Regions from separate parts of the Homo sapiens genome. Here regions 1, 3, 4, 5 and 6 are each linked to region 2. Evidence: promoter capture Hi-C in 16 types of primary human blood cells and fetal thymus (Javierre and others, 2016). All regions are on one chromosome and are shown on one strand. Each heading gives the region's core, a stretch centred on a gene start or on the middle of the fragment in contact. The rest is flanking DNA. Distances are from core to core; before and after follow the strand shown. Region 1 overlaps EPB41L2 (erythrocyte membrane protein band 4.1 like 2). Region 2 holds the start of ARG1 (arginase 1). Region 3 overlaps EPB41L2 (erythrocyte membrane protein band 4.1 like 2). Region 4 overlaps EPB41L2 (erythrocyte membrane protein band 4.1 like 2). Region 5 overlaps EPB41L2 (erythrocyte membrane protein band 4.1 like 2). Region 6 overlaps EPB41L2 (erythrocyte membrane protein band 4.1 like 2).

Evidence for each region. Contacts are between HindIII fragments. The CHiCAGO score rates a contact against its expected background, and 5 or more counts as called.
Region 1: a fragment that was not itself captured here is called in contact with the fragment with the promoter of ARG1 in region 2 in 3 of 17 cell types (activated CD4 T cells, M2 macrophages and naive CD4 T cells); the score reaches 5.5 in activated CD4 T cells.
Region 3: a contact is called between a fragment that was not itself captured here and the fragment with the promoter of ARG1 in region 2, in 4 of 17 cell types (non-activated CD4 T cells, naive CD4 T cells, total CD4 T cells and 1 more). The highest score is 7.8, in non-activated CD4 T cells.
Region 4: a contact is called between a fragment that was not itself captured here and the fragment with the promoter of ARG1 in region 2, in 13 of 17 cell types (naive CD8 T cells, fetal thymus, total CD4 T cells and 10 more). The highest score is 14.3, in naive CD8 T cells.
Region 5: a contact is called between a fragment that was not itself captured here and the fragment with the promoter of ARG1 in region 2, in 1 of 17 cell types (fetal thymus). The highest score is 5.3, in fetal thymus.
Region 6: a fragment that was not itself captured here is called in contact with the fragment with the promoter of ARG1 in region 2 in 4 of 17 cell types (naive CD8 T cells, non-activated CD4 T cells, naive CD4 T cells and 1 more); the score reaches 8.6 in naive CD8 T cells.

Annotation. Positions count from the first base shown.
Region 1 is chr6:130,862,777-130,865,624 of GRCh38, reverse strand. EPB41L2 (erythrocyte membrane protein band 4.1 like 2) reads left to right here. Exons shown (of 20, transcript NM_001431.4): 17 at 1-89; 18 at 1,907-1,987. Among named protein-coding and RNA genes, the nearest start is that of SMLR1, 37 kb to the right of the region's middle. RefSeq lists an enhancer at 1,782-2,076. The HindIII fragment of the contact is 1,466 bases long and covers 682-2,147 here.
Region 2 is chr6:131,571,896-131,574,595 of GRCh38, reverse strand. It overlaps ARG1 (arginase 1), which reads right to left and starts at 1,370. Exons shown (of 8, transcript NM_000045.4): 1 at 1,257-1,370. The coding sequence starts at 1,313. It also overlaps a transcript of MED23 not described here. RefSeq lists an enhancer at 1,403-1,904. The HindIII fragment of the contact is 9,894 bases long and covers 1-2,700 here.
Region 3 is chr6:130,846,656-130,849,497 of GRCh38, reverse strand. All of the region lies in intron 19 of EPB41L2 (erythrocyte membrane protein band 4.1 like 2), which reads left to right. Among named protein-coding and RNA genes, the nearest start is that of SMLR1, 21 kb to the right of the region's middle. RefSeq lists an enhancer at 380-519. The HindIII fragment of the contact is 154 bases long and covers 1,491-1,644 here.
Region 4 is chr6:130,886,619-130,889,402 of GRCh38, reverse strand. All of the region lies in intron 11 of EPB41L2 (erythrocyte membrane protein band 4.1 like 2), which reads left to right. Among named protein-coding and RNA genes, the nearest start is that of SMLR1, 61 kb to the right of the region's middle. The HindIII fragment of the contact is 1,757 bases long and covers 390-2,146 here.
Region 5 is chr6:130,929,839-130,932,538 of GRCh38, reverse strand. All of the region lies in intron 3 of EPB41L2 (erythrocyte membrane protein band 4.1 like 2), which reads left to right. Among named protein-coding and RNA genes, the nearest start is that of SMLR1, 100 kb to the right of the region's middle. RefSeq lists an enhancer at 882-1,051. The HindIII fragment of the contact is 4,313 bases long and covers 1-2,700 here.
Region 6 is chr6:130,905,199-130,907,898 of GRCh38, reverse strand. The region is part of intron 5 of EPB41L2 (erythrocyte membrane protein band 4.1 like 2); the gene reads left to right. Among named protein-coding and RNA genes, the nearest start is that of SMLR1, 79 kb to the right of the region's middle. The HindIII fragment of the contact is 517 bases long and covers 1,068-1,584 here.

The DNA.
Region 1 (2,848 bases), core at 165-2,664, 710 kb after region 2:
GGGCTGGTGGTGATTCGGGCACGTTACTGACCGCACAAACCATCACATCTGAGTCCGTGTCAACAACGACAACCACACACATCACCAAGGTAAAGCAATGCAGGGGATCATATGGAGAGGATGGTACATTACAGACAGAATCTTTTCTGAATTGTTTCTCTCTTCCTGTACACACTTCCAAGTAAGATACAGACAGTGCCAGCGGAATCAAAATGCCTTGGTTTAAAGTATCCAAGAAATTAGGCTCCATTGACAAATGCATTCAAGCCAAATTGCAATTTTGTGAAGTACAAGGGGGTAAAAATATGTTACGAATAGCTATATGTAAGATAGCTACAAAACCATAAATAATTTAATAAAATTTATAATTTATAAAAACAAACTTGTGCTTCTACTTTTATTAAACCAGCCCTCCTGACTAAAGCGAATGAATGAAGGCCATCATTCAGAATTTTCAGCAAGTTGTTCAAATAATGTAGAATTTCCCTCATTTAAGATCGCTAGTATACTGATTTGGGGCATTCCCCTGTTCCTCCCTGCATAATTCTCTAAATGTTTAGCACTGGGTAACCAGTCATCCCTGGATCAGCAGCATCAGCTTCACCCGGGGCATTGTTAGAAGTATAAATAGCGTGGCCCCACTCCAGTCCTCCTGAAACCTTAGAATTGTCTTAAGAAGCTTCCAGTGATTCTGATGCATGCTGAAGTCATCAGCTTTCTAACTCCAGCCTTATTTTCCACTATTTCCTTCTTCTGTTTTTTACTTTGGATAAGTGTCTAAAGGTCTTAAAGGTGTCCCTTGTGCCCTTCCCAACCCATGTTTCAACAACAATTTAAAAAACAGCAAAAGTAATTTGTAAATTTAAAAATGCCGCATAAATGCAAGGTACTGTTGGTGCTCATTTTAAAGCATATCCAGTTATTAAGCATAGTGATAAGCCTGGTTTGTTATGGTAAAATGCTGTCACTTGTGACTGAGAGTGTACATTTATCAGAGTTGTAAATGTTGGATGTGCGCTTTCCCAGGACCGTGTGGTATTTGCTTATTGACTGTTTAGAAGGTCACAGCCAGATGATCTCCTCAGCCTCATCCAGTGTGCCCCAGGCACTCGCAGCTTGTACGGAGCCCATAACGCTGTGAGGCAGTTCCCCCAGGAGCTCCCTCCTCCAGCCCCGCTCGCAGCCTTTGTCTAGCCATGCGCCATGTCTACGTGTATGACTACTTACGCAGGGTGTCATCAAATCAAACATTCAACAAAAATCTCATCCATCTTCCGTATCTGAAACCAAAGCAAATCCTTTTTAAAATTATTGCACTAAATGCAATAAACAAAATCAGCAAATAAATTTGTATGCTCAGAATCCATCAGTCAAAACCATCACATCATACAGAAGTCTTCTGTGATGGGAAAAAAATATATATCACATCAAACAGTTTCTCAAACCAAAAACAGATACCTAAATTCTTATAATTTCTTGTAATTCTGCAAGTAACTGATTTCTCCCTACTCTCCTTTTTAAAAATTGGCCAGCTAGGAGTAAAGAAACTCGGGAAACTATAACAGAATTCCCTTAAAGGAACTACTTGGATTAAATAATATCTGTCCTATCTTAATCAAGTGAGATTAAGATGGGACAGATGCCATCTTGAATATTGATAAATGAGTTTTAAGGTTGCTCTCAGCTGAGGGATACTTGTGGATGCTATAACTTTAGTAATAGGATTCTCTATTGAGCCTAAAAATAAAGCACAAAGTGTTTCTAGAATATCAGTCTTTTGCTGCTTGTTGTGTGTGGCCTTACAATGATCCACAGGTCTAGGTGGACTCCCATCTCTGTTTGCTCTGACTGTGTAAACGTGCTTCAGTGATTGCTGTTTTTTCTTCTTCTCCTTTATGACCTTTAGACTGTAAAAGGTGGAATTTCTGAAACAAGAATTGAGAAACGCATTGTGATCACAGGAGATGGAGATATTGATCATGACCAGGTAAATAAGTTAAGTTCTAGTTTTGGAAATGGCCCTGTTTGTTTTCTAAGTTTCACATTTGTCATCATGTCGCATACCTGTGTAAACCTCTTCTCCCCAAACCTCCTGGATGAAGTCCACCTCCTAAGCAGGACATAAAGACACAGCCTGGATACAAGCTTTCCTACCTCTGAATCAGAATAAAACACAGATTTCTCTTTATTTCCCACTGGCTTTACATGCACTTTTGGGTCAACGTAATCTGGAGGATTTCTGGAAAACATAAGATTCGTGTGGGCCTGGTTTAAAGGCAAGTGATCAAATATTTAAAAATGAATGGCAGTTCAATGCACCAGTTTCCAAAAAATGAAGAAAGCCACTAAGCTTGACCTATGCCTACTTTTAGGAACTTTTCAAGTATATTTATGGCATTAGAAAAGTTGAGCTATTTACTTCCAGGTGTTTTCTCCTATTGCGATTATTGGGGGAGGGGAGGTAATACAAGGTTTCTTACAAAGTGAAAATTTACATTGATTCTGAAAATTTTTTAAAAGAATCATGCCTCCATTCTAATGTTAAATTTGGCAGCATGCATGGCTTTGAGCAGGTGATGAATGGAACTGCTGGAGACTTTGAGAGCAGTTTTAATTTTAGACTGCAGTCCCAAGTGATGCTGACAATTTTTTTAAAAGTGATTTTAACTCAGCTTTAAAGGAGACCAAGCTGTTTTCCTTTTATAACAACTTGAAGAAAAGGAAAAGAAATATTCAATTGACTATCTCAGCTGGGGAGTAGGAGCTAACGATAGTTACACAGCTTTGGACACAATACTGAGCTCAGGAAAGAAAATTTTAGAGAACAAAATTCCTCATTTGAGAAAGG
Region 2 (2,700 bases), core at 121-2,620:
CTTACAATCATGAGACAATGAACTCCATTCTCATGACCATGTTTTAATGGGAGGAGGGTGGTAGAAGGAGGACACTTGCTTCCCTTTTGTGAGGTTTTTAAATTATATATTTATTATAACCTGTTCAAGAGTGGGTGAGAACAGTGTGGATTTTAAAAGGAACATTTCTGTGTCAGCAAAATGTCCCTGTGTTTGGGAGAGACTTTTGGAGGATTTCCAGGGGAAGCAAAGTAGTATTTACTGACAGTCCAAATGCAGTTTGGGCCTCTAACCTCTGGCCTCTCTCAATTTGTTTTGCAGTAAAAAGTCAGAGTACACAGCAAGGGTTCCAAATTAAGAGGAAGCAAAACGCTGCCCAGATCCTGAGAAACCTGGAGAAAATCAACCTTAGTAGTTTCAACTCATACATTGTCTTGTTTGATTTTGTTCTTTGTTTTTTATCCTCTTTAAGCACAGATGCGTGTTGAAGTCTAAGGTGTTCTGTCATCACACTCTCTTTACTAGAATAAGTGTGCCCAGGCAGAAAAAAAAGTGTATTCAATGTTGCTGGCATGTGTGGATTCACAGCTCGTGGCTGTAAGGAAATCTGGGGGTTTCATAAATCCATTAAAATCCTTTTAGAGTTGCCAACCCGCAGTAGGATTTTCTTTCTTTTTTTGTTCTTTTTTTCCCCTTCCAAGTGAGGCACATAAAGGATTCTACCTAGTCCATGAATGAACAGTTTCATAGAAACATTAAAACCCTAACATAACATGAATTATTCACAAAGTTGCATGAAACAATAATATTTAGGTTATCCAAATTATAAGAAGCCTGAAGGTTACCACCAAACTATTAAATTTTTCTAGGCATTAATTACATAACTAAACAAATGTATTTCTTAAAATTCTCTCTTCCTCTACATACACACAGTAACATCAAAAACAACAAGAGCAACTAAACCTCAATGAGTAGCTACAATGCAGAAAGAGTCCATTTCAATTCAAAGAAAAATATTTTCTCCTAAAAAATATGAGAAAACATTCTGTAGGTTCAAATGAATTTAGCCTTGGCTGAGATCACGAGCCACAAAAGTAAGTGGATATGTGACTATAATTATACAATGTTGGAAAATGGTGAGAGGACTTTAAAATATGCATTTCCTGGCCAGATTGTATCAGAAAACTGAACTAACTAGACAATAACACCTTACAAATTTTGAAGTCCAAAATTTTCAACTAAATTCCAGGAATTCAAAGAAAGACTTTTTTCCTTACCTGTCCCTTTGAGAAAGGAGCTCCAATAATCCCTATGGTTCTGGACTTGGCGCTCATGCTCTGACACTTCTCTTTGCTGCACTTGAGCTCTCCAGTCAGTCAACCCTCAGTGACAGAGGGCGCATCTTTTTTTTCCATTTATACTTGGGTTGAATAAACAACCTTTATCTAATGAGGACAGCTGGCTCCACCCACTAAACCAAAGAATGACAGTCAACAGTCTTGCAATTTTTCATACATGGAGTAACTATATGGTTACTCCATGTATGAAGTAACTATATGGGGTTACTTCATACATGGAGTAACCTAACTCTGAGTCTAGGTCTCTAATCAAGTGACAATTATTCATGTTCTCACTTCACACCCTTTTAAAAAGCCAGCCAGATGACATTAACCTGACTTCAACAACTGACAAGTTTCACAACTACAGAAGAAGTCCTATTGTTCTGGCTCAGCGAACTCAGGGCAAGGCCCTTTCCTCCTCCAGATCTCTGAAGACGTCCTTGTAGAAGAAGGGCCGGGCTTGGCAAGATCGTCTGTCACATCCCTTCCAGCCCTAAAATCCTGAGTTGAGATTTCACACATGAGGGTAAATGGTTAATCCATGAGACACATTTCATAAACTTTTAGGGTATAATATAATAAAGAGTATATAACTTCCTTTTTTGATGATTACTTTAAAAAATTAGTTACTTGATTGGTAACCCAGAGAGGTTACCATTTTTGAAGTATGGTGTACAGGAAAATAATTGTAGAATCATATCATAATCAAAGTATAGAAATAAAAATAGCTAACATTGAGTTTTTACCATGTGTCCGATGCAGTTCTGTTTCAAAATACCATATTTATATTTATACCAATTTTATGTGAAGTCTCATCATTGGTGCCATTATACTGATGAATAAACTGAAGCTCAGACCCGTTGCCAACATAGGCTGTAGAAGAAAAGTCGGGATTTAGTCTCTGCCATTCTGAATCCACTTAACCGTCGAGCTTATAGTCTAAATGCTGGGAAGGTGTCAACCTCTATGCCCCTGAGCTACCATTTGTCACCATACAAAAGTATGAATTTAAAATAAAGGCACCTTAAAGATCCTTCCGACTTTAAAATTATGTAATTGTAATTTAAAGGGAAAATTCACTTAGTAGAAACTAATTTCTTTTTCCTATTGGTGGGAAAGAACATTTTGGAATTTAAATTCCATGAGGTCAGAGAATTTTGTCTGCTGTATCCCCAGGGCCTAGAAGAGTGTTGGTGTATAATAGGCACTCAATAAATATTTATTGAATGGATAAATGAGGAAACCAAAGTCTCATGGGTCCATTTTGATAGGACTGTTTTCCAAATAGGTTTCCTACCTTTTTCTTGTGGGTTTGCTTGTATATCCTAAATATTTACTTGTGGTATTCCTCATATTGCCTAGATATTAACCTTATAGCATT
Region 3 (2,842 bases), core at 318-2,817, 730 kb after region 2:
CTTGAAAAGATGAGTAACTAATCTTTTCAGATTAAAGTTATTAACCTCTTAGTCACAAATGCTACATTTTCCCTCCAATTTAAAAAATTGGCACCAAAAGTGGGGAGAGGGGCAAGACAGAACTGACCGCTTAGAGACAAGCAGGCCATATCCACAGTTTTGTTTTTTGTTTTGGCCTAAAGGGTATATCTTAGAATTTGAATCAATTATTAGTGCTTAAACATTAGAAGATAGTCAGCAATTTTAGAAAAATCAGAAGCTCTGATGACATTGAGCCTGCTCTCCCTGTGGTTACTATGCTGGAGCTTAGTAGGTGTGGCCAGCATCAGGCTGGGAGGAGCTCTCTAGGTCACCACAGTGCTACTGCCTGTCATATCCTGTCTTTATGTTGAGGCCCTTGGGGCCCAGTCTCCTTATGCATATATGTTACCCATCTGGCCTCTGACCGTGTTGGGGTGGTGGTTATGACTTTGTTACCCTGTCCTAGGCTGTGTTTGAGAGTCTGGAAATGTAAAGAATATTTAATGTTAAACTGCCTGTAGAGCATCTTCGTGTCTCTCCTCTAACCTTCTTTATAAGGAAATAGGATCCTAGACATTAACGTAACTGTCATAGGTCACCTGTGCTAAGTATAGATTGATTTATCTCAAGGCTTTTCTGTTAGATACCCCAGATACCAATTGTTTAAACATGTAAATTTTGTGGGTGGCATCAGAGGGGAATTTTACTATGGCAACTAATTAACAAGTTTGTGTATGTGTGTGTTTTTGTAAAGATACTCCTGTCCTTACGAGGATTACAGTCCAAGGACATATTGATGCTTTCTTGCATCAAAATAGTTGAGTTAGCATTAGAGCACATGGAAGTCTGGACCTGTTCTGTCCAGTATGGTAGCCAATACCCACTTGTGGCTATTGAGCACTTGAAATGTGGCTAGTTCAAATTGAGATATGTTGTAAGTATAAGATATTTACTGGATTTCAGACATGAGAAAAAAGTAAATTATTTCTAATTTTTAAATTAATTACTTATTGAAATAATAATTTGGATATATTGGGTTTAATAACTACATTAAAATTACATATACATGTTCCTTTTTATTTTTTGAAATGTGGCTTCTAGAAAATTTACATATGTGGCTCACATTCATTGCTTGCAGTATATTTCTCTTGGACAGTGTTGATCTGTGGAGGGTAGGAGGGATGAAGTGAGAGGACAACCTTAAACTAATATGGCACGATGCAGTTTAGATTCTGTGTGTGTGTGTGTGTGTGTGTGTGTGTGTGTGTGTGTGTGTGAGAGAGAGAGAGAGAGACAGAGAGAGACAGAGACTGTTAGGGGGCAGGGAATAGTGTTTTAAGCTATCTTTATTTAACTTTGAGGAAAAGTGATTTTTTTCCCATGTTCCCTCAGATAAAAAGTGAGAAAGTTGGGTCTAGAAATTTCTTTTGATTCCCACTAACCTTCCTTTTTTCTAAAAGATGAAAGCTTTGTTAGTTTGTATTTTTAAGCTCTTATTTGATGCTACAGAGAAATGTTTTCTCATTACTACCCATCTTATGAACCTAAGTGACAAAAGCTCAGCTCTAATAGAGTATACTGAGTGGAGCCTGACCATAGTTCATTTGTTATTTAAAAGAAGCTTTAAGATTTTGTAGAACGCTTTTATATCAAATTCCCAGAAGATTTGACCTAGCAGAGTGAACCAGAAGACCTTAACAGCTTTAGGGCCGGCACTACTACTTTTAGAAACTTGTGTTACGGCTTCAGTGATTTGAGGAAACCAGTTTTTTAAAGAAGTAAGAGTCCTCATGGGATATCATAGATATAGTTAATCAACAAAAGAGAACAGAAAAATGAACCTGATGTTTTTCTACTTAAACAAGAAAATTGGCAGATGAGAGTAATGGTAAACATGGGAATTAGTGCTTCTTCCTAAAGATATAATGCAATTCTGTTGTTTTTTTTCCCTGCCGTTTCCTCAAGCTCTTATTCTTCAGTCTTACGTTACAAATTAGTCCCTGATACTTTCACTTCTGGATTCATTAATCTATATTATGAGCCTGTTATGTTCAAGGGACTATTATAGTTGTGTGTGAGAGGGGAAGGCATAGGAACATGCATAAAAATAATGTTCAGGGCACAAAAATAGTATATTTGAAGAGAAGCCTAGATAAAGGGCTGTGGAAGTTGACAGGAGAAATGCTTCTGATTGGCCAAACAAGACAAAGCTCTCCAGAAAGGTTGCAGGAAAGCTCCTCTGTGCAAAGCACCAAGGGCAATCTGGATAGTTGGAGATTGGGGAGGGAAGAAAGAGCACATGGGAAAACAATGGGAAGGATGTCGGGAAAAGCAAACCTCCATCGTGGTTATGTATAGAGTTCTCAGCACAGCTGGAAACATTTGTTGAAGGCAAATTGCAGATGGTCTTACATGCCATGTCCTTTAGTAATATGAATTTATCAGTAGTGTGTATGATTGACTGAAAAGCTTCTAGATTAGATGAAGTACCCTGTAAAGAAATCAAGATACTGGTTCAGACAGTTAGTAATGGGGATACTGAACTGGACATCTCTAAGAGTAAGATTGAATTTAACTTGGAAGCAAAGCCAGGAGTAAAATATCATAGGAACATCTATAAAAGTTAAATCCGATATTTTTTTGCTTTTCAGTCAGATGAAGCTCAGTATCTTTATTACTATTTGAAGTAAAGTTATATTAGCATGTAGGCCTTTGAGAGTAATACAGTTCATTCAGAGGACACAGGGCTCAGGAAGGTCAACCCAGTCCCAAAAGGCCTGAAGATGGGACTTGGGCCTTAAAGGACCCACAGAAGAGCCTC
Region 4 (2,784 bases), core at 19-2,518, 690 kb after region 2:
TGAAATAAGTTTTATATAAACTACACATGGAAAAATATATATATAAATTACCTGGTCCAAAATGGGTTAATAATAGGTTTTCTATAAAAGAGCTAAGGTTAAATTTATATTAGAATGCCTTGTGAAGGAATATTCTTTCTTTGTAATAGAAAATGATTAGTATGGATGATTTTCTACCCAAAGAAATAGTTTTCCAACATTTTTGGTTGATTGAACTAAAATATATATATAATAATAATACTAAATTTGAAAATTGTATTTTACTACTAGTTATTAGCAGAAACATTTTTTCTTGTCTATTGTATTTTTCTGAAATATATGCTCGAACAACTTATATTTTAAATAATTGGAGTAAAACAGATCAAATAATGCTAACAGATGAAAAAGCTTTCTTAATAGTGAAGGATTCATATGGATTGCCTTCATCTGCTTTTTCTAGAAGAAAAACTTGGAAAACAAATGCAGGTGGACACATAGAGATATTTGCCAGGATTTGTTGGTTGGGATTTTGGTATATAGTTATTAAATCCTGAAATGTGCAAGGGGGTGGTGAACTGTGCTTTAAACAAATTTCCAGAATTGTGGAAATGATTTAAATTCAGTTGATTGTTAATGTACTATCACTGCTAAAGTATCTTTTAGGTCTTCAACAACTGAGCACTTTTCCAAGTAAATCTGAAAAATGTGCCAACCCATGTAAATATTTCCCAAGCCTTGCCCCTTGCCACAGAGAATTTATACAAGTGCCGAATAAATGCAGTCACTGTTGTTTAGTACCCTGAGAGAAATGATTGCTCTTTCTGGAACACTGTCTGTTTTCAGCATTTGTTTGAAACTGTGAGGCTGTATAACTCTTATATTGCAAAGTTTAGCATTTAAAAAGAGCAGTAAAACAGCATTTTCTTTGAGGTATACAAACTGTGCTCAAGGAAATCCACCATCTTGTATGGGCAGTTAGTGCAGAGGGTTACAGGAGGTCTGTATCTGAAAACAATGATTTTTCCAAGTGAAAACAACAAACATGGCACAGTAATCCATTATTTTTCTCTTTGTGTTTTGGAGGCCGTAATTCATCAGATGGGTAAGTCATCAAAAGGATTATTGTGTTATTGTGAAAAATAGGAGGCTTTTAACGCCAATACATGACCAGACAGCCAGTGAACTCTTTGATTAGGGCTTATATTCTCCGTTTTTTCCCCCAGAGCAAAGCTAGGCTGTAACCTGGCACTGAGCTTTTATTTTCTTTACCACTCCTTATCAACATACCATTTGTTGTTGTAGTCTTCATGTATTGTATTTTCTTTTTCCTGTTTACTTTTTAAGTAAGGCTAGAATAATTTAGGTATATTAGCCTCACTTTAAAGTTTGGCAAATTAAAATAAATCCTCTTATGATTACATAGCAAGTGAAAAGTGGGATTCAATCTAAAGATCAAATATCAAAATGAAAATCAATCTAGAACAGCTGTTTTAGGACAGGGAGTCCCCTCCGAGATTAGAAAATCAAACCCCAAAGAAGACAAATCAGTCATTTAAGAGAACCAACAACCAAGATGCATTTGGGGGTTGAGGAACCAAGTGATTTCCTGAAGGTGGAAAGTAAAATGAACAGGGACGTTACTTAAATAGGATCATCAGGGAAGGAAGGCCTATTTGAGGAAGAACCAGGTCAGTTGAGACTTGAAGGATGAGAAGGAGGCAGCCAAGGAAAGGACAAGAGATATTTAATAATAAAGCATTCCAGGTAGCAGAGGCGGCAACGATGAAGCTATAAGGTGAGGGAGAGCTGGATACATTCCTGGAACAGAGAGAAGGCAAGTGCAGTCAGAGCTTAGGAAGTGGCGGGAGAGGTAAGCCTGGGTCAGATCATGCAGGGCCTTGGAGGCCATGGTGAAGAATGTGGTTTTTATTTATTCCATATGCTCTAGGAAACCATTGAAGGGTTTATGTGGGTTTATGTGCCCGCAAGAGCACAGCGTTATCTTTTAAAAAAAAAATCATTTGATGCAAGAGAACAATTAGATTGAGCAAGGAAGCAGGCAGGCTGGTTAGGAATGGTCCAGGTGAAAGCGATGGTGGTCTTCCCTTTAGTGGGAGTAGGCCAATTAGCCATTTGGTATCTTGGGCTCTGCCAGGGCCTACAAGCTTCTCAGATGTTTAAGACCTGAATAAATGTATCGGCTTCAAAATACAAGAAACTGCATGCTGAAATTAATAAGTGTTTAAAAGTATGCAAAGTCAGCATTTTGTCAACTTTAATAACTTTTAATTTGATATTCAAATTTTAATATCATTACATTTGAAGCCATTTCTAGGTCAGATTTTTTTCATTTTGCAAAATTTCTGAGTATGTATAATAGGTGTGTAGAAATCATAATTGTAAGCAAAAGAATTAATCATAGCCATATACTTTCCAAGGGAAACTTATTTAGATCTTGTTAGAAGTTTCTTTATTAAAAAAAACTGCTGGAGGCTGGGCACGGTGGCTCACACCTCTAACCACAGCACTTTAGGAGGCCAAGGAGGGCAGATCACAAGGTCAGGAGTTTGAGACCAGCCTGACCAACATGGTGAAACCCCATCTCTACTAAAAATACAAAGAATTAGCCAGGCGTGGTGGCGCGTGCCTGTAATCCCAGCTACTCAGGAGGCTGAGGCAGGAGAATCGCTTGAACCTAGGAAATGGAGGTTGCAGTGAGCCAAGATTGCACCACTGCACTCCAGCCTGGGTGACAGAGCGAGACTGTGTCTCAAAAACAAACAACAACAACAACAACAACAAAAA
Region 5 (2,700 bases), core at 44-2,543, 640 kb after region 2:
AAAAAATTAGAATATGTCTTGATAAGTCAGTAAGTGGTTCTCTTTATCTGGGGCAATACCCCAAAATTGCTGTGACAACTAATGAAGCAACTACGTGTACTGGTATCTTAGGTGAAAGTTATGAAGCAAAATTATGTGTATATTTTGCTTGGTTAACAAATGTATATTTGTAGTCCTTTTTATACAGTAGAATTCAAGTTGTTGATTTTTTTTTTTTTAAAAGCAATGTTAATGGAAGAAAATTACTTTCCTGGATAGAAGTGTGGAATATTAGTGTATATTAAGAGCATACATAATAATTTAATTATTTTAAAAGAAATTCAGAAATCAGACTGAAAAATTAGATAAACTTTCTATAACCTTATTTTTCTTATTTGTGAAATAAGAAAGTTTGATTAGATAATGGAAAACTTTAAAATCATATTTAAAATCAATTATTATTTTAGAGCAGCTCAAAAAGGTCTTGTAATTTCAGCTGGCTTTAATGAATCCATGTAATAAGCCAAACATTTTATTGATCACTTTAAACATACTTCATTTAATTATCTCATCACCATTATAAGGTGGGTACTTTTAAAGAGCGGAACTGAGGCATAGAGAAGTTACGTAACTTACTGTGGTTACAGAGCTGTTAAGAGTAGGGCTGGGGGTCAAGCCCAGGACACTGTGATTATACTGCAGTACTTTTCTTCCGTATTGTTAAGAATTGGTGATTCTCAAGAAAGATGGAACATACCAGAATCTCGGGGGAAAGGAAGAACTATTTTGAGGAACAATTTCAACTTACATGCCCCTGTACATTTTTATGTGCTACCATTATGCATTGTGCCTTGGTTCTTCACCCCCACCCCAAAGAGAATTATTATTTATGGAATGTGTTGTGAACAGTGTGAAGACAAAGTTGTGAGCCACTAGATGGTGTTGCTGTCTGAGCCGACCCAATCGAGTTTGATTGAACATTAGTGCTATAAATGTTATAACTTGGAACATTCATATGTAGCATTTAATATGTGTCACCTGATAATCTGATGCTTTTTAGAATATAAGAAGAAATGTACTACTTATTTTGTTTGCCTTTTTGAATAAGCCTCCAAAGCACATCTGTTTTAGGTTTCTTAGGAGTGACTTTTCTGTGTTTTTTTGTTACAATTTTCCTTCTCAGTCCTTCTTTTTATTCCCTAGCTTATGTTTCATTCCCTCTTGTCTTGATGACTTTATTATAGCTATTTAAAAAAATAATGCGTGTTAGAACCTTTTATATGTTGAGTATAAATAATAAATTAGTAGAATAAAATCATTGTAGATTAATAAATTTTATTAATTTTGCTAGGGATTCATTGAGCTTTCTTAATTTGAAGTTTTATAGCGTTGTTTCTTTTAATATTGCCTTTCCCTTATTCTCTCTCATCTCCATCTAGGACTCTGATGAGATATTTGTAGACCCCTCATTCTGTTCTCCATGTCTGTGAAGTTCTTTCATATTGTCCTTCCCTTTGTCTTTCTCAGCCACATTCTGGATAGTTTTTTTCAGATCTATCTTCCAGTTCACTGGTTTTCTCTTCAGCTTTGTCATATCCTGTCCATTTGGATTATAATTTAGTTACTATAGTTTTCATTTCTAGGTGTTTTATTTGATTATTTTCAAAACCTGCTTTTTCATATTCACTTTTTCCTTAGTCATATTTTAAAATATTTCTTATAAACACATAAAACATATATATTTTGTGTTTTGTTCTTGATAATTCTACTATGTGCAGTCTCTGAAGATCTGATTCTGATACTGTGTCTCTCAATAATGGTGTCTGGTTTCCTTGTCGTTTTGTGATTTTTAATGTATGTTTTTTGAGATTTTTGTCTATGAGAATTTCTTGCTTCTCCCAGGCAGCTGGGCATATCTAATCTTGGACCAGTTTAAACTGGATTATCTTTTGGCATTTTTGAATCAAACAGATGTGAATACCAGTGTCTACATCTGCGTTAGAGTCAGATGGTGGTACAGGTTGAGTATCTTTTATCTGAAATGCTTGGGACCAGAAATATTTTGTATTTCAAGTTTTTTCAGATTTTGTAATACTTGAGCACTCCAAATCAAGAAATTGGAAATCCGAAATGCTCCAATGAGCATTTTCTTTGAGCATAATGTTGGCGTTAAAAAACTTTTGGATTTTGGAGCATTTCATATTTTGGGTTTTTGGATTTGGGATGCTCAACCTGTAATTCTTTCCTACCTCATTTAGTGAGGTGTGGTCTTTAAAACAAAAATTCTGTTGTAGAATACATTAGTAAATGTTGTATTAAAAAATAGTGGGCTCTTTTGCTAAATAGTTTTGGGAAACATCAGGTTTCCCAAGTGAAAGGAATAATGGGAAACAGGGTTTTTGCATTGCAGGACTCCTCAGGGTGTCTGTTATACAAATAGGTGTTTTGGTGCTCAGTAATCATATGCAACAAGGAGAATTTTTCTTGTCTCACTCTGCTGCTCTTTTTGGGAATGAGTGGTGTATATAACTCATGGGATGAGTGGGACCAGTGGAAAATAACTTTGGCAAATATAGGTTGGCCTCGTGATACCTTTGGCTTCTGCTAATTGCCTTCTCGCTGTCTTTCCTACTGTTTATACCACTTTATGACTGTGCGTGTATGTGTGTGTGTGTGTGTGTGTGTGTGTGTGTGTGTGTGTGACTGTCTGTCTTGTATTTA
Region 6 (2,700 bases), core at 77-2,576, 670 kb after region 2:
GTGCCAGCATGCAAGATGCCCTTTGTACTGTTGATTTCATTTCCTTACTTACTTATTATTCCTAAGGTCAAAATACTGAAACCAATCTGTCCTTTCCCTTCTTGCCCTTTTCATCTACCATCTAGCTCCCATTTTAGGTTCTTCACATTTGTTTTCTTTATTTCTTTCTCTCTCGAATTATTTATCTTTTTGGTAGTCTTCCTGTCATTTCTTTGCTTCCCTACTCTCTTTTTTTATTCTGAGCATATACCTTATTTTTCCCATTTCCTCTTCCTGTAGACTCATCTTTCTTTTCCTTTTTAAAAACGTCTTTGATTAGAGTGACCAACCTCCTGATTTGCCCAGGACTGAGGGGCTTCTCAGGATATGAGACTTTAAGTGCTAAAGCTGGAACCAGTCCCAGGCAGGCTGGAATGGTTGGTCACTATCCTTTTGATTATTATTCCTGGTTTCCCACATTCTCTTTCTTGCATTTATTTTCTTGGTGTTTCATCCATTTATGCTTGCTTCATGATGGAAAAGGGAGAAAAAGAAGAGGAATAAGTAGACACCAGATACATTATGCTTACCTTATGGAAGAAACAGTACCAGAGCTTTGAAACTTTTTCCTTTGTCCCTTCTGCAGTTGTTACTTTGCAAAGTGCATGCATTCAAAAAGGTTACGGATGCTTAGTTCTTACACTTTCTCTGAAACCAGACCTGCCAAGTGACCCAAACAGAGAGAACAGGGCAACCTCTGAAACATGATTGATGTTCCATTGAGTTGTTTCCTATGGTTTTGTTTGGGTTCTTGTTTGATTATTATTATTATTTTTTTTTTGTGCCACTCTCTTCAGAGTCATGGAGATTTCCTAACTTTTGGAAGCCAAACCTCTTGCCGATTATGAATCATGTTCTTATGTTTTGATTATCTGTGAAGTTTCAAAAAGTTATTTCAGAACTTTTACCCTTGTGGTTTGGCAATATGAGTAACAGTAAGATTAGACTTTTTAAAACTGTTGGAACCAGTTCTTTAAATGGCATCCTGTACTGTACCCATCATGAAAGCAGGCTGAGGAAATGAAGCTTTAGCAGTTGTATCTACCTCTTTCTTTCTGTATTAAAATGGACCAAAAAACCTGCCTATTCTATCCTTGGTGTCTGCTATAATTTTATTTTTATTTTTCAGCTCATAGGCAGTTAGCGAAGATAAATATTAATCTTTTTTGAGCTACCTATGACAACCAACAACTTAATGATTCTCATTTAAAATTTGCCTTAAAACCTTTATTTTCTGAAACATAAATAAGACTATATGTCTAAGGCTTGCGTATGACTAGTATGTAAACATTTCTGTAGCTAGAAGGACTGTTTATAAACAGCTAGGTAAAAATTATGATGATAATATGTAATCAAATTAAAAGTTTAACTTGAAAACTGCTAAGGGAGTAGATTTTAAGTGCTCTCACTGCAAAAATAGTATGTGAAGAGTAATGCATATGTTAATTAGGTCAATTTAGCCATTCCACAATGTATACGTATTTTAAAATATCATATTTTGTACCAAAATGTATACCATTTTTAATTGTCAGTTTTAAAAAAGCTTAGCATTATTGGTACATTTCAACAGCTTTTAGATTTGGAAGTATATTAGAAAATATGTGGTCTAGTAGAAATGTCTCCGAGTCCTGTCCAGGCAAGCATGTTCTAGTGTTATTACCTAGAAAACAAACAAGGAGCCATTAAGAAATGATAATCCTGTGATAACTTTACTTAATTCGAGACTAGCAGTCACCTTGAAGAAATGCTTACACAAACACGATGCATGGATATTTGACAGTCATCATGGCGCTATAGGCCAAGAAACCTCATATATCTTGATATTCAGGAAAATCTTATATCCCATTATTATGTTTTAAATGTGTAAAGCAGAACTGAAATCTGCTTCTTAAGTTCAGCAGGATTGACTTCATTGGTTGAATCAGTGGTGCATTGAGCCAAAATCCAGCAAAAAATGCATTTGTATACAACAGTAGCCATTTAATAAATATTTGAGTGAGTGAAAAGGTAGTGTGCTGATGGTAAGACAAAGGACAAAATGCCACACTGAACAAGAGAATGGGATTCAAGGAATTTTTCTTCAGGTTCATAAATTAAACATCTCATAAGGTCTTTAAATATGTATAGAATGGAATAACTTGGCTGGGCGTGGTGGTTCATGCCTGTAATCCCAACACTTTGAGAGGCTGAGGCCGGGAGATTGCTTAAGCCCAGGGATTCGAGACAAGCCTGGCAACATAGGGAGACCCCGTCTCTGAAAGAGTAAAAAATAAGTTAGCCGGACATCGTAGCGCATGCCTGTGGTCCCAGCTACTTGGGAGGCTAGGATGGGAGGATCACTTAGGCCTGGGACGTTGAGGTTGCAGTGAGCCATGATCATGCCACGGCACTGCAACCTGGGCGACAGAGTGAGACTCTGTCTCAGAAAAAAAAAAAAGGAATAACATATATACACACACACATTTTTTTAATTTAAAAATATTATGAACTTGAAGTCAAACTCTAAATTCAGGCTAGTGGAATTATTTGGATTCCATTAGGAAAATAATACCTGCCCTTTCCCCCATAGTTTTACTTTTTTAAAGTTATCCTACACATGATCTATCAAAATAGCAGTTAAATTTTACGTATAAATAGCAGTGTTTTAACTTTTAACAAGCC